Regions from separate parts of the Homo sapiens genome. Here regions 1, 2, 3 and 4 are each linked to region 5. Evidence: promoter capture Hi-C in 16 types of primary human blood cells and fetal thymus (Javierre and others, 2016). All regions are on one chromosome and are shown on one strand. Each heading gives the region's core, a stretch centred on a gene start or on the middle of the fragment in contact. The rest is flanking DNA. Distances are from core to core; before and after follow the strand shown. Region 1 has its middle 69 kb from the start of DNMBP-AS1. Region 2 overlaps HIF1AN (hypoxia inducible factor 1 subunit alpha inhibitor). Region 3 overlaps ABCC2 (ATP binding cassette subfamily C member 2). Region 4 overlaps CUTC (cutC copper transporter). Region 5 holds the start of CHUK (component of inhibitor of nuclear factor kappa B kinase complex).

The links. Contacts are between HindIII fragments. The CHiCAGO score rates a contact against its expected background, and 5 or more counts as called.
Region 1: a fragment that was not itself captured here is called in contact with the fragment with the promoter of CHUK in region 5 in 1 of 17 cell types (endothelial precursors); the score reaches 5.8 in endothelial precursors.
Region 2: a contact is called between a fragment that was not itself captured here and the fragment with the promoter of CHUK in region 5, in 1 of 17 cell types (fetal thymus). The highest score is 5.9, in fetal thymus.
Region 3: a fragment that was not itself captured here is called in contact with the fragment with the promoter of CHUK in region 5 in 1 of 17 cell types (endothelial precursors); the score reaches 6.1 in endothelial precursors.
Region 4: a fragment that was not itself captured here is called in contact with the fragment with the promoter of CHUK in region 5 in 1 of 17 cell types (endothelial precursors); the score reaches 5.1 in endothelial precursors.

Annotation. Positions count from the first base shown.
Region 1 is chr10:99,856,729-99,859,428 of GRCh38, forward strand. No RefSeq gene overlaps it. Among named protein-coding and RNA genes, the nearest start is that of DNMBP-AS1, 69 kb to the right of the region's middle. The HindIII fragment of the contact is 2,513 bases long and covers 45-2,557 here.
Region 2 is chr10:100,539,425-100,542,124 of GRCh38, forward strand. It overlaps HIF1AN (hypoxia inducible factor 1 subunit alpha inhibitor), which reads left to right. Exons shown (of 8, transcript NM_017902.3): 3 at 1,210-1,358. Among named protein-coding and RNA genes, the nearest start is that of HIF1AN, 4.8 kb to the left of the region's middle. The HindIII fragment of the contact is 8,099 bases long and covers 1-2,700 here.
Region 3 is chr10:99,832,793-99,835,584 of GRCh38, forward strand. It overlaps ABCC2 (ATP binding cassette subfamily C member 2), which reads left to right. Exons shown (of 32, transcript NM_000392.5): 24 at 1,588-1,743. Among named protein-coding and RNA genes, the nearest start is that of ABCC2, 52 kb to the left of the region's middle. RefSeq lists an enhancer at 1,175-2,374. The HindIII fragment of the contact is 943 bases long and covers 1,052-1,994 here.
Region 4 is chr10:99,739,337-99,742,103 of GRCh38, forward strand. CUTC (cutC copper transporter) reads left to right here. Exons shown (of 9, transcript NM_015960.3): 3 at 374-433. Among named protein-coding and RNA genes, the nearest start is that of CUTC, 8.5 kb to the left of the region's middle. The HindIII fragment of the contact is 2,671 bases long and covers 1-2,661 here.
Region 5 is chr10:100,228,228-100,230,979 of GRCh38, forward strand. CHUK (component of inhibitor of nuclear factor kappa B kinase complex) reads right to left here and starts at 1,369. Exons shown (of 21, transcript NM_001278.5): 1 at 1,201-1,369. The coding sequence starts at 1,305. It overlaps CHUK-DT (CHUK divergent transcript), which reads left to right and starts at 1,433. Exons shown (of 4, transcript NR_186419.1): 1 at 1,433-1,497. RefSeq lists silencers at 1,107-1,346, 2,416-2,678 and an enhancer at 1,457-1,506. The HindIII fragment of the contact is 6,397 bases long and covers 1-2,351 here.

The DNA of each region.
Region 1 (2,700 bases), core at 51-2,550, 370 kb before region 5:
GAAAGCCATGGGCCACATGCGGCCCACAGGCCATGGGCTGGACAAGCTTGCTATAGACACTCGTTCTTCTCTGGGAAACAACTTGGTTGTCAGAAGATTGTGGATAGCACTGGTTGTACTATTAGCTCTGGTCACAGGTATTGCTCTTGATACCTGGTGCTAAACAATAGCTTTGCCTGGCTGCTTCTTTTTTAGTGCTCATCTGCGGACACCTGTGGTCTGGTTTGTCAGGGTTTGCATTCTGGTAATATAAAGGTAGCTTCTGGTATAATAAATATTTGCCTGGTTGACACAATTATTAGGTCCAATCTGTAAACCAATTACTCTTTGGCCAGCTTTTCATTGTCCTTAATCCAACAGTCTAATTTCTCTGCAAACTTGACTCCAATGTTAATGGTTGAACAGAATTCTTTTATTTTAGTTGGACCTAGAGTAGGGGTATGGCTCTAGGGCCAAATTTGCCCTGCTACCTGTTTTTGCACATAAAGTTTTACTGGAACACATCCATGCTCCTTTGTTTCTTTGCCATCTGTGCCTGCTTTCATGTTACAATACAGAGTTGAGGAATTGGCCCACAAAGCCTAAAATATTTACTATCTGGCCCTTTAAGAACAGGTTTGCTGACCACTGCTCTAGAGCCACCAATGTAGCCTGGACTGGGTCACGATTCCATGCTCAAAAAGACTATTTGCTGGCCGGGCGCGGTGGCTGACGCCTGTAATCCCAGCACTTTGGGAGGCTGAGGTGGGCGGATCACCTGAGGTCAGGAGTTCAAGATCAGCCTGACCAACATGGAGAAACCCCGCCTCTACTAAAAATACAAAAAATTAGTCGGGCATGGTGGTGCATGCCTGTAACTCCAGCTACTCGGGAGGCTGAGGCAGGAGAATCACTTGAACCCGGGAGGCGGAGGTTGCCGTGAGCTGAGATTGTGCCATTGCGCTCCAGCCTGGGCAACAAGAGCAAAATCTGTCTCAAAAAAAAAACAAAACAAAACTATTTGCCTTTAAAATGTCATGTGGCTTCACACCTGTGATAGAATAATGGTCCTCAAAAATGTCCACATCCTAATCCTCAAAGCCTGTGAATATGCCACCTTCCCTGGAAAAAAGGACTTTCACTGATGTGATTAAGTTAAGGGTCTTCAGATGGGGAGAGCACCGTGGATTGGCCAGGTGGGCTCAATGTAAACACAGCGTTCTTATAAAAGAGGCAGGACAGTCGGAGTGAGAGCGTGCTGCGATGACGGACGGAGTGAGACAGTTGAAGGTGCCACGCTGCTGGCTTTGAAGATGGAGGGAGTGGCCGCAAGCCAGGATATGCAGACCTTAGGAATCGGAAAAGGTAAGGAAATGAATTCTCCCCTGGAGCATCCATGAGGAACCAGCCCTGCCAACACCTTGACTTTAGCCCGGTGAGACTAATTTTGAATTCTGACCTCCAGAATGCTGAGATAAATTTGTTTTCAGCCACTAAATTTGTGGTAACTTGTTCCAGCAATAGGAAACTAATAAAAGTAAGCCCAGGTAGCTGTGATAAAACTGCCACAGTTCTTCAGCTAAAGTCAGTTTAATGACAATTCATGGATCTTCTTCATTAAATCCCACTGTAGTTTGAGTATGTAGAGGGTCATGCTGCCTTTTAAGCCCAGCTAAAAGTTGGTTGCAATACTCGTGCCTGGCATCCCTTCTATCAAATTGCAAAAATCTTATTCAGTTTGAACAGAGTTGCGGGTATTTTCTTGGTCTCAACTGAAGGCTGTAGTGAGGGCTCTTGTCAAAGTGAGTCCTGTTTTTGACGACAGCAGATTGAGAATTTCTCACCCTCAGCTTTCCTAATTCTGGACCTCTGGGGTGGTTGCTGTGAGAAATGCTTGGTGAGATGCCGAGGTGTGGTGGTTCACAGGCATTGCTGTGTGCCGTGGTCCTGCTCCGTCTAAGGACCTGTCAGGGTGGCTGCAGGGTCTCACCCACCTGACTGCTCCCCAGAAATGTTTCCAGAATGAATACATTGCCGAGACTCTAACCAGAGGCTTGCTCCCTTCCACCACCACCCCACAGCCTATCGCTGGGAAGGCACTAATTCTGCCCCTCTCTGCTTGAGGGTCATCTCTTGAGTGTTAAGGCGTAGGTATCCCTATGTAGCTTGCAAAATCTGCAACTTGTGGAAAACTCCTTTCTTGACATATGTAAAATACTAATGCTGACCTGCACCAACAATTGCAGCAAAGTTCTAGCAGAGGCTGTGGGACATAAGCCAGGGGCTCAGACAGATCGGAGTCCACTGCCCCTGCTCTGAAGCACTGGGTGATCTGCTACACATGGCAAAGGTAAAACCGTGAAGACTTCAGCAGTATCATGTACCACCAGGCGGGAGAGTTTAATGCCCCGTGAGTTATGTGGCGACCAGAGAGGGGATTTAGCATGAAGTATTTAAAGCTGGAGGTTTCTCGGTCCTCAAGCATAAGGTTCTGCAAATGAAACACAGTTCAGAGCACAACTGTTAAGGCCCGTTTGTACTCCTGACCCTGAACTAACACCCTCATCAACAGAATCCAAGCTTCACAATTAACTAAAATGGGGTGACACAAAATTCAATCCTTATTGAAACTGAGCTCCTCTGGAGCTCACATTTCATGAAAGTTTGTGGACATCATCTCACTGGATTCTCACATCTCATTGGATCTGTTCCTGAGAGGAA
Region 2 (2,700 bases), core at 49-2,548, 310 kb after region 5:
CCTTACTTTAGCTGTAGAAGGCTGCAACAGGATAGGTGGCTGAATCAGTTAAGATAAACTAGGCTTCAAGCCAGAGCTCGGGCTAGAAACAACAGAGGCTTATTTCTCACTTACTACATGTTGATCATGGGTAATGTCATATTGTTCTTTACATCATCTTACTTGCTCTGGCACCCAGATTGCCCCAGCAGCTACTATCTAGAACTTTGGAGTTGCTGTGGCAGAAGGAAAGAGATGTGGTAGTGGTAACTTGTTCTTAAATTACAGTTGGAAACAACACAAGTCGCTTCTGTGGACATTTCCTTGGCCAGAGCAGCGTAAATAAGCAAGCCTGGCTTCAAGGGGATGTGAAAGAAAACTCGCACACTGAGGGAACCAGCTCTTGGTGAACAGTAATACAATTTACCACAGTGGTCATCAAGGGCCAACGGAGATGTCTCAGGCTCTGCGAGTCTCTGGAGTGAGACTGATTCATCATTCTAGGGTCTGTGGATAGGCTTCTAGGAGTCTGAAATTGTGTGAAAGTTCTGGGTGTATGTGCATTTTTATGGGGAACCTCCGTGGATTCTTTTATTTATTTATTTATGTATTTATATTTTTTGAGATGGTGTCTTGCTCTTGTCACCCAGGCTGGAGTGCAATGGCACGATCTCAGCTCACTGCAACCTCTGCCTCCCAGGTTCAAGTGATTCTCCTGCCTCAGCCTCCTGAGTAGCTGGGACTTCTTCTCCAGGTTCTTTTTTTTTTTTTTAATTTTATTTTTCATCTCACCCTCCTACTCTTTGGATTCTTAAAGGAGTCATTCTGTGACCCAAAAAAGGTTAAGCATCACTTCTTTAAAGAAAAAGTTTGGGGGCCAGATGCAGTGTCTCACACCTGTAATCCCAGCACTTTGGGAGGCAGAAGCAGGAGGATTGCTTGAGCCCAAGAGTTTAAGACCAACCTGGACAACATATTGAGACCTTGTTTCTTTAAACAAAACAAAGAAAAACCAGTAAATTAAAAAATTTGGTGTTGAACATAACTCAATGAAGGATAAGTAAGAATTCAGTTGTATGAGAATCCATGTTGGCTAAAATTTGCCTGACTACATCTGTTCTCTGTGGGAGATGCTGGTATGGATTTGGGCTTGGATTTTCAGATGTGGAGAGGCCATGCCAGGGGCTGTGTGTGCATGCACTAATAGGATTTTCTTCTTGGGGAACATAGGTTGTATCTGCAGCAAACGCTCAATGACACTGTGGGCAGGAAGATTGTCATGGACTTCTTAGGTTTTAACTGGAACTGGATTAATAAGCAACAGGGAAAGCGTGGCTGGGGGCAGCTTACCTCTAACCTGCTGCTCATTGGCATGGAAGGTAAGAAATCTTTCAAAAGCAGCATGGCTTGGAGTCATATGAACCTGATTTCTAATCCTGTCTTCACCGCTTATTAGCTCCATGACTTTGAACAAGCCACTTCACTTTCTTAAGCCTCAGCCTACTCAGCTCTAAAAGAAACATAATAGGGGCTGGATGCCGTGGCTCACGCCTGTAATCCCAGCAGTTTGGGAGGCCAAGGTGGGTGGATGATGAGGTCAGGAGATGGAGACCATCCCGGCCAACATCATGAAACCCCGTCTCTACTAAAATACAAAGAAAACAAATCAGCTGGGCATGGTGGTGCGTGCCTGTAGTCCCAGCTACTCGGGAGGCTGAGAGAGGGGAATTGCTTGAACCCAGGCGGTGGAGGTTGCAGTGAGCCAAGATCACGCCACTGCACTCCAGCCTGGCGACAGAGCAAGACTCTGTCTCAAAAGAAAGAAAAAGAAACATAATAGGGCCAGGCATGGTAGCTCATATTTGTAATCCCAGCACTTTGGGAGGCCAAGGCAGGAGGATTGCTTGAAGCCAGAAGTTTGAGGCTACAGTGAACTATGATTGCACCACTGCACTGCAGCCTGGGCAACAGAGTGAGATCCTATTGCTTAAAAAAGGAAAAATGAAAAGAAATGAAACATGATAATGTCTTGTAAATAGTTGTGAAGTTGTGAAGATTAAATGAAATAATGTATGTCGAGTCTGTTTTTTTTTGTTGTTGTTGTTTTGTTTTTTTGAGACAGAGTCTCACTCTGTTGCCTAGGCTGGAGTGCAGTTGTGTGGTCTCGGCTCACTGCAACCTCCGCCTCCCGTGTTCAAGTGATTCTCCTGCTTTAGCTCCCAAGTAGCTGACACTACAGGCGTGTGCCACCATACCCGGCTTATGTCGAGTCTTTAAGCTAGTTTCGTGTATTCTAAAAAGTTCCCTTTTCCCTTCCTCAGCTGTTATGTGAGTGTGTATACTGAGATATTAGGGACCTCTCTGAAATACAGACATGTGATGCTTAATGTCAGGGATACGTTCTGAGAAATGTGTTGTTAGGTGACTTCATCATTGTGCAAACACCATAGAGTATAGTTACACAAACCTAGATTGTGTAGCCTTCTATATGCCTAGGCTATATGGTGTAGCCTCTGACTAAACCATGTACTACATGGTGTTAGCATATTACTGTGCTGAATATTATAGTCAATTCTAACACAATGGTAAGTATTTGTGTATCTAAACATACCTAAATATAGAAAAGGTATAGTAAAAGTACGGTATCAGATACTGCAGGAAAAAGGTGACAAAAGAAAAAAGTATATAAAGGTTAAAAAATGGTAGTTTGGGAATTTTTTT
Region 3 (2,792 bases), core at 273-2,772, 400 kb before region 5:
CCTTGGCATTCACTCATTCATTCATTCAACAACCGTTATTGAGCACTTTCTATGAGCCAACTACTGTACTAGACACTGGGGCACTCAATGAATGTGAAGATCATAGATGTCTCTCTTCCATGGGCCAGACCCAACTCACTGATTTTTTAGTGTATCTGAGATGGGAATTCAGGAACAGAGGCAGAGATCAGGCAATTCTGAATGATAAGTAACTATCACCAGCACAGTTTTTAGCCCTGTGCTTATGGAGCAGCTCTGGACTCTTGTTTGTTGGTCTTGGGGCAGACATAGAAAGTATAGCTCACAGTCCACAGCCAGGTTCTGGGGACACAGTAACTGCTTCAAAAGTGGGCCATTAACTGGTCCCCCTGTGTCATCTTCCTCTGGGGCAGAAACAGTGGGCATGATGTCACTAGAGACAACTTCAATGGCCTTTCTGCTCTTTACTAGAACCTAAAAGAACACTCAATTTTGGGTGAGAAATTTCTCATAGTAATTTTGTAAAGATCACAGTTTTCCCCATGTTGTAATATATATAATCTTCTGGGAAAGAGAACACAGAGGTTTTCTGTGAGTTACTTAGGCAACAGTCATAGTTTGAAGACTGCTTTTGCATGAGAAAGGAAACTGTCATTAATTATATAGTATGTTTCGTTGGGGAGGTGGCTCAGACCTATTAAGGGGAGTTTGATCAAGGGGCCTCTGGGATCAATGGCTGAGTTAAGAGGAGATGGAGTGGAGGAAGGAAAGATGGAGACTCTGTGCCAGGTAAGGATCAAAAGTAATCTGCATAGAACTGATAACTGGTAGGGATTTCTTTTCTCTGCCAACTGTGGGTATAGTTATTTGCATTCTGATAGGACTTTGGGAAAGGTAGGTTAGACTCAGGAGTCATCCATGATTCAGAGCTTTCCTGGAAGACCATTATCCCTGATACAGTTTGAGAAATTCCAGAGATAACTTAAACTCACTTTGGTACTCACATATTACCAATCATAGAATCAATATAATCCCCACAAATTTAGGCAAGGGCAACCCAAAATATAAACCAAGCTTCTTGAGTGTTCTCCAAACCATCCATCCATTCATTCATTTTTCTTATTTGTTCATTTATTTCACATGACACGAAGGCAACATGGCAGTAAGACACATCTGTTCCCGCTGGGTTCCTTGGTTAGAACACTGTCCAGGCAGGCTCACATTCAACCCCAGCTCCCTTCCCCTTGGTCCTCTATGCTTAGCAGAGGAAGCAACTTCCTGAGTATTTTTAGTAGAGATGGGATTTCACCATGTTGGTCAGGCTGGTCTTGAACTCCCGATCTCAGGTGATCCACCCGCCTCGGCCTTGCAAAGTGCTGGGATTACAGGTGTGACCACCACGCCAGGCCTAAATGAAGAAATTATGGAAATGAAATTGGTTATTGGGGCAAGCAATGCAGCCTATTGCAAATGAACACAATGAAATGATTACATGAAGGAGTACTGGGAACACACAGAATCCAACAGATTCCTTGCTAGAACTAGGAAGATGTAAACTATCTTAGGAAGACCTCAGTGATGGTGTATCTCTCCTAATCGTTTTCCTAGGATATTTCCACAGTGGATGACACCCTGCCTCAGTCCTTGCGCAGCTGGATTACATGCTTCCTGGGGATAATCAGCACCCTTGTCATGATCTGCATGGCCACTCCTGTCTTCACCATCATCGTCATTCCTCTTGGCATTATTTATGTATCTGTTCAGGTAGGTTTGGAAATGGCTAAGTCATCCTTCCTTCCTCTCTATCTATAAAAGCCCAGCCTCTTTCCTGAGAATCTTCTCTCTGATTCATTGCTAGTCACTCACTCCTCCCCTCAGCAGCTTTGCCATTTAGTCATATGTTGACATACCCAGGAGCCCACAGGCCACTGTCTGAAGCTGAAGTGAGAGCATCAATGGGTGCACCATTTATGGCAAATGTCACCCTAACTGCTGCCCACCCTTCACTCCCTGGAAGCTTAGGTCGGACAGATTTACGTTTGGATCCAAGACTACTTTGAGATTGGCTCTGGACACAGTCTTGCAGCTCCATAAGAACCCCCATGACGATTAGGTCGGTTCCAGAAGAGCCATGCTATGGTGCTTCCTTGGTTGACTTTGGACAGGCATAGCTGCTTGGAGATGTCTCTCAGCAGCAGCTGGGTCTTTCTTTTTACTTCGGCAAAGTTCTAGTTTCACTGGGGTGTCTGTGGGTGGTTTAGGCTCAATTCCAGTGTATTCTTCGAGGGAATGTGCAGCTTGAAAGCAAAACAGGGAAACTGGAACGAGTGGAAGGAACCCTATTCCCACAATAAAATGGATGAGGGAAGGGGAGGCTGTGGAGGAACTCTGGTCCCACCAGCTGCTTTTGTGGTGAATTGTTTGCCTGGGGAAACAATTCTGAAGACACTGATCAGGGGCTCGTGGCCTTGTGGCCTGCGATTGGCGGCTCGCCCCCATGTCCGTGTACAGTTCCTCAGGCACATTGTCACCATAGCGGCCTTTTAACTATTAATAACAAGCCAACAAACAAGAAGCAGGGTTATTGGAGGGAACATCTGTATGTCCATGTATAACATTTTGCATCCCGTCTCTCCAACGCCCCACTCTTCCCAGGTTTCAACAAATCCTCACAGAATCTAGTAGCAGCACGGACCCATTCCACTCCCCCTTGCCCTCAGGCCACAGGGTTCTTCCCTGCATTGGATTCTACCCTGTTCCAGTTCTTACCCCCTCAGCACTCTGCATACCTCCAGAATTCTCTGTACCTTCAC
Region 4 (2,767 bases), core at 76-2,575, 490 kb before region 5:
AATAAAGACCCTTTTGGGAAATATTATGTTATTTTCTTATCAACAAAGACTCAGTATTCCACTATAGTCAGTTTTAAGAAACATCTTTATTCTATGTTACTTTCCTGTACATAGAGAGGCAACCCTATAATACAAAAATTTAAGAGAACTAGCTTAACTTTAATTAATTTTTAAATTTGAGTATGAGTAACACAATGTGGGCTGCAGAGTATAGCTGAGTTAAAAACAGAGTTTTACTCTAGCTTTATAATTTGATTTCTCTGAGATGATTTCTAAGACTGTTCTATATTTGGAAAAAATATATATAAACAGGTTGCTGTTTAATAACAGCTTATTTTTTAAAAATGTGTTGAGCAATGCTTTTATATTACAGGTGCTGATCGGATTGAATTATGTTCTGGTTTATCAGAGGGGGGAACTACACCCAGCATGGGTAAGTGTCCATTTTTCCCAGGTTTTCTGATTGGAGTTCATAGAGCCTGGAAGCAACTGATAATCAGTTTCGTTGGGGTCCTTTACTAATGTCATGTTAACTATGTTATGGATGTTGTATCAGAAATGTTTATGATTGTAAAAAAATCAAAGATTTGATCAAACATATTTCTTTCTCACATCAAAAAGTTGAAAGGTAGGTAGGTAATTGTTAATACCGGTTCAGCTGCTCTGTAGTAACATCAAGGATTAGGCTTTTATAAAATCTTTCCATGCTGGCATCCTTAGTATATTGAAATCCCCTCCTGGTCTTTGTGCTATTGTTGTCATATATTTTACTCATACATATATCAAAAACTCCATGCTGTATTGTTAGTTTTGTTTGAAGAGTCAATTATCTTTTGTTAAATAAGAGATTTAAATAATAAGAAAAAAATCATATATTTACCCACATGCAACTACCATTTCTGGTGTTCTTTATTCCTTTGTGTAGATCCCGTATTTCTGTCTGGTTTCATTTTCATTCTGCCTGAAGTACTTTCTTTAACTTTTTTTGTTAAAAAGTATGCTAGTGATTCATTCCTTCAGCTTTTATATGTCTAAAATAGCTTTTTCCTTCATTTTTGAAAGGTATTTTTGCTGGGTATAGAATTCTAGGTTGACAGGTTTTTTTTTTCTTTGAAGATGTTTTTCCATTGTCGTCTTGCTTGTATTGTTTCTGACAAAAAGCTATCATCCATATCTTTGTTTTTCTCTATGTAATATGTCTCTTTTTTCTACCTACTTTTAAGATTTTTTTATTATTGGTTTTGAACAATTTTCTTATGGTGTACCTGAGTATAGTTTTTTCATGTTTCTTGGACCTGTGCATTTATACTTCTCATCACATTTGGAAAATTTTCAGCTTGCAGCTTGTTCTCCACTCCCTCCTTTAGAGACTTAAGCTATTCTTACATTAGACTACTTGAAATTGTCCCAAAAGTCACTGATGAACTTCTCTATTTAAAAGAAAATCTCCTTTCTGTGTTTTCATTTTGCATAGTTGCTATTGTTTTGTCCTTGAGCTTACTGACCTTTTCTTCTGCACTATCTAATCTGCTATTAGTCTCTCCTGGTATGTTTTCATCTCATACATTGTAGTCTTCATCTGTAGAAATTTGAGTCTTTTTATGTCTCTGATGTCTCTTAACTTTTTTGAACATGTGGAATAAAGTTATGATAGCTGTTATAATGACCTTGTCTGCGAATTCTAACATCTATATCAGTTCTGGGTTTGTTTCATTTGATTTATCATCTAATAATATATCTTATTTTCCTGCCTTGTAATTTTTTATTGGATGCAAGACATTGTGAATTTTACTTTATTGGTTACTAGACATTTTTGAATTCCTACAAATGTTCCAAAACAGTTTGGTCCTTTTGGGTCTTGCTTTTAAGATTTGCTGGGCAAGTCTGGAGCAGTGGTTAATACAGAGCTAATTATTCCTTACTACTGAGTCAGGATTCTTCTGTGAACTCTACCCTGTGACCATGAATTTTGAAATTTTCCTGTCTGGCTGGTGGAATAGGCATTATTCACAGCTTGGTATGAATGACAGGCACATTATTTCTAATCCTTTTTATTGGTTCTGTCCCAGGCCTTGCGTAGTTTCTTTGCATGCATGCACCGGTCAGTACTCAGCTGAATATTAAAGGAGGTTCTCTGCAGACCTCCAGAGTTATCTGTCTTCCTTTCTTCTTTCATTCCTTCCTTTCCTTTCTTTTCTTTCCTTCTCCTTTTCTCTCTCTTTGCTTTCCTTCCTTCCTTTTTTTCTTTTGACAGGGTCTCACCTGTTGTCCAGGCTTGACTGAAGTGGTGTGACCATAGCTCCCTACAGCCTCAAACTCCTGGGCTCAAGCAATTGTCCTGCCTCAGCCTCTCAAGTAGCTAGGATTACAGGCATATGCCACCATGTCCAGCTACATTTGTTTGTTTGTTTGTTTGGTAGAGATGGAGTCTCACCATTTTACCCAGACTGGTCTTGAACTCCTTGCCTCAGGCAATCCACCCATCTCAGCCTCCCAAAGCACTGGGATTACAGGCATGAGCCACCGTACCAAGCCTATCTTTTTTAAAAAAAATCCTTTTTTTAAACCATTGAGATAGTCTTTGCTACTCCAGTGTTATCTTTCTGTCCTCCCTGTACTGTCTCCTATAAACTCTAGCTACTTCAGTCTTCCTGAACTCTAAGCTTTGTCTCCTTAACTCAGGGAATTGTTTTGGCTCCATGTGGGTCCCCCATCCCTGTGCTTTGGCCTAGAAACTCTCAAGGCAGTAAATTGGGTCAATCAGAAT
Region 5 (2,752 bases), core at 119-2,618:
CCAGGGTCTATTTACCTAAAATGTCCTTTAGGAAGGCACGAACCTCTCAAATGGCAATGCATGGTTGTGTGAATGTGCATCTGTGCATTTTTCTGGGGAAAGGGTTCACAGCTTTTATCGGTATATCAAAAAATACATGTCCCAGGCCTGGTGCCGTGGCTCACGCCTATAATCTCTGCACTTTGGGAGCCTGAGACAGGTGGATCGCCTGAGGTCAGGAGTTCGAGACCAGCCTGGCCAACATGGTGAAACCCCGTCTCTACTAAAAATACAAAAAAATTAGCCAGGCACGGTGGCGGGCGCCTGTAATCCCAGCTACTCAGGAGGCTGTGGCAGGAGAATCGCTTGAACTCGGGAGGAGGAGGCTGCAGTGAGCCGAGATCGCGCCCTGCATTCCAGCCTGGGCGACAGAGTGAGACTCCGTCTCAAAAACAAAAACAAACAAACAAGACCCAAATATGATTTTTTAACTGCTACTACAATGGTTAAACATTCTCTATTAAATCAAAGTAAAATTCTTGAGTCTGATGTTAACTGTCCTCCACCTACTAGAGCGCCCCCCATCTCCATCTACTAATATAGCCTTTCGTTTGAAGCCATGCTCTGCACCAACTCACCCTCATACTGTCCCGACCTGGAATACATCCCCAATTCCAAAGCCCATCCATGCTTCCAAAGGCTTAACTCTGGACCCATCATGAAGCCTTCCTTGTCTACTCCAGTCCCCACTGATATCATATGGCCTCCAAGCGCGCGCGCGCGCGCGCACACACACACACACACACACACACACACACACGGACGCACACATTCCCAAAGGCAGTCCCCTTCAGCCCTCTTCTCACACATTCGTGCTCCTACATACACACTGTGACGTGCATCTGCCTCACACACCCTGACACTCCACATTCACAGAGACACACACGCACTGTCACACTCACTAAACACCTGGTCACAGCCTGACAGTCATACCCAAGTTCCCCGCAACAGCTCTATCTATGCCCAGTACCTCAAATACAACTTTGGACACACAGGCATAGTATCTTTCTCTCTAATACACACACACAAGCCCACTGGCCCCCAAATACTGCCCAAGGTCCCACCAACCATCTATCCCACACTGTCAGCCCTGTGTTCCACAGACGCTCAAACCCACCGCCGCTCCAACCCACCGCCGCTCCCTCTCACGCCCCGCCTCACCCGATGCTGGTACAGACAGACGTTCCCGAAGCCGCCGGTGCCCAGCCGCTCCCGCATCTCCCAGGGCCCGCCCGCGCCCGGCCGCAGCCCCGGGGGCCGCTCCATGGGGCGGGAGGGCAAGCGGCCTCAGGTTCCACAGTTGTTCCAAGGCCGGTTCCGGGCCGCCGATGCTCGCGCGTCTTTGTTCTCGCGAGAATGAATGCGTCACTTCCGGTAACCGCTGCGAGAAGGCCCTTCCCTAAGTTCTCCCAGGGCGCTGCCAGAGCCCTGCCGGCTAAGGGATGGGGAAACAAACAGGTACTCGGTCCGCTCTTTAAGTCCCCTACGTATTTTCCGGGAGGGCTGAACGGAACCACAATGTTTTTCTAGTCTTGGAAAACATAAGATCTCTCCAAACCCCACATTCCCGTCAAATCCACTTTTCAAAGCAGCCCAGTCTCTCCTGTATTTTTTTCTTTTTAATTAAGATGGGGTCTCGCTCCGTTGCCCAGGCTGGAGTGCAATGGCACGATCACGGCTCACTGCAGCCTCGACCTCCCGGAATTAAGCGATCTTCTCACCTCCCGAGTAGCTGGGATTGCAGGCGCGCACCACCTCGCTTGGCTAATTTTTTATTTTTTGTAGAGACATGGTCTTGCTACGTTGCCCAGGCTGGTCCCGAACTCCTGGTCTCAAGTAGTCCTCCCACCTTGGCATCCCAGAGTGCTGGGATTATAGACATGAGCCACCGCGTCCAGCAATTAGTCTTTTCTAAACTTCATATTGTCTCTACTCCTATCTACACTTCACCTTTCTTCAGATCCCTGCCATCTATCCTCCAACTCCACCACCAGCTGATCCGGCACGCTAAAGACCACCAATGATTTAAAGGCTGCGAAATCGTTAAAATACTACGCTAGCAGGCCCACTAATGAATTAGCCTTCTTGTTCACTGACTTCCCAATACACCTGCTCCAGGATATCCCCTGTCATCCCAAATGACTCAAGAATGTGACGCTATTCCGGAGTGAAGAGTGTTTCTCGGGATTTCGCGAGCTTTTTTCCTAGATGCCTCACAGAGCTTGCTGTCCGGCAGTCCAGTTATGGGTTTGCCAGCACAGTAGTTCATTGTGAGAAGTGTTTCTAATGGGTGCTACAGGGCTGCAGAGGCAAGCTTTGGGAATGCTGTTGGTGCAGCAAGTGCTTCCGGGTGGCGGATTGCCATAGCATAGGGGAAACAACTCCTGGTCTTCCATTTAAGAGGGTCATACCTTCACTGTACCTGGGGGATCTCAATACTCCAAGTAAAGGAATCAGCATGGAATCAAATTATTGATAAATGTGATGCTGCAACCAGAATGTTGAGCACTGCATGATACAGACGAAGTCGATGTTGTAGGTCATTAGTAACATGTGGTATGGGAGGTTCTGGTTTCTGTAAGTGCATGGTTTCCATGGACTTGGAGATGATGATGCCTCTGAGGACATGTCATTTAGAGCTGGGCAGACCGCACAGAGAATTGTGGTACAGATTGTTGTAACAGTATGAAGCCCTCTCATTTGCTGTATGTAC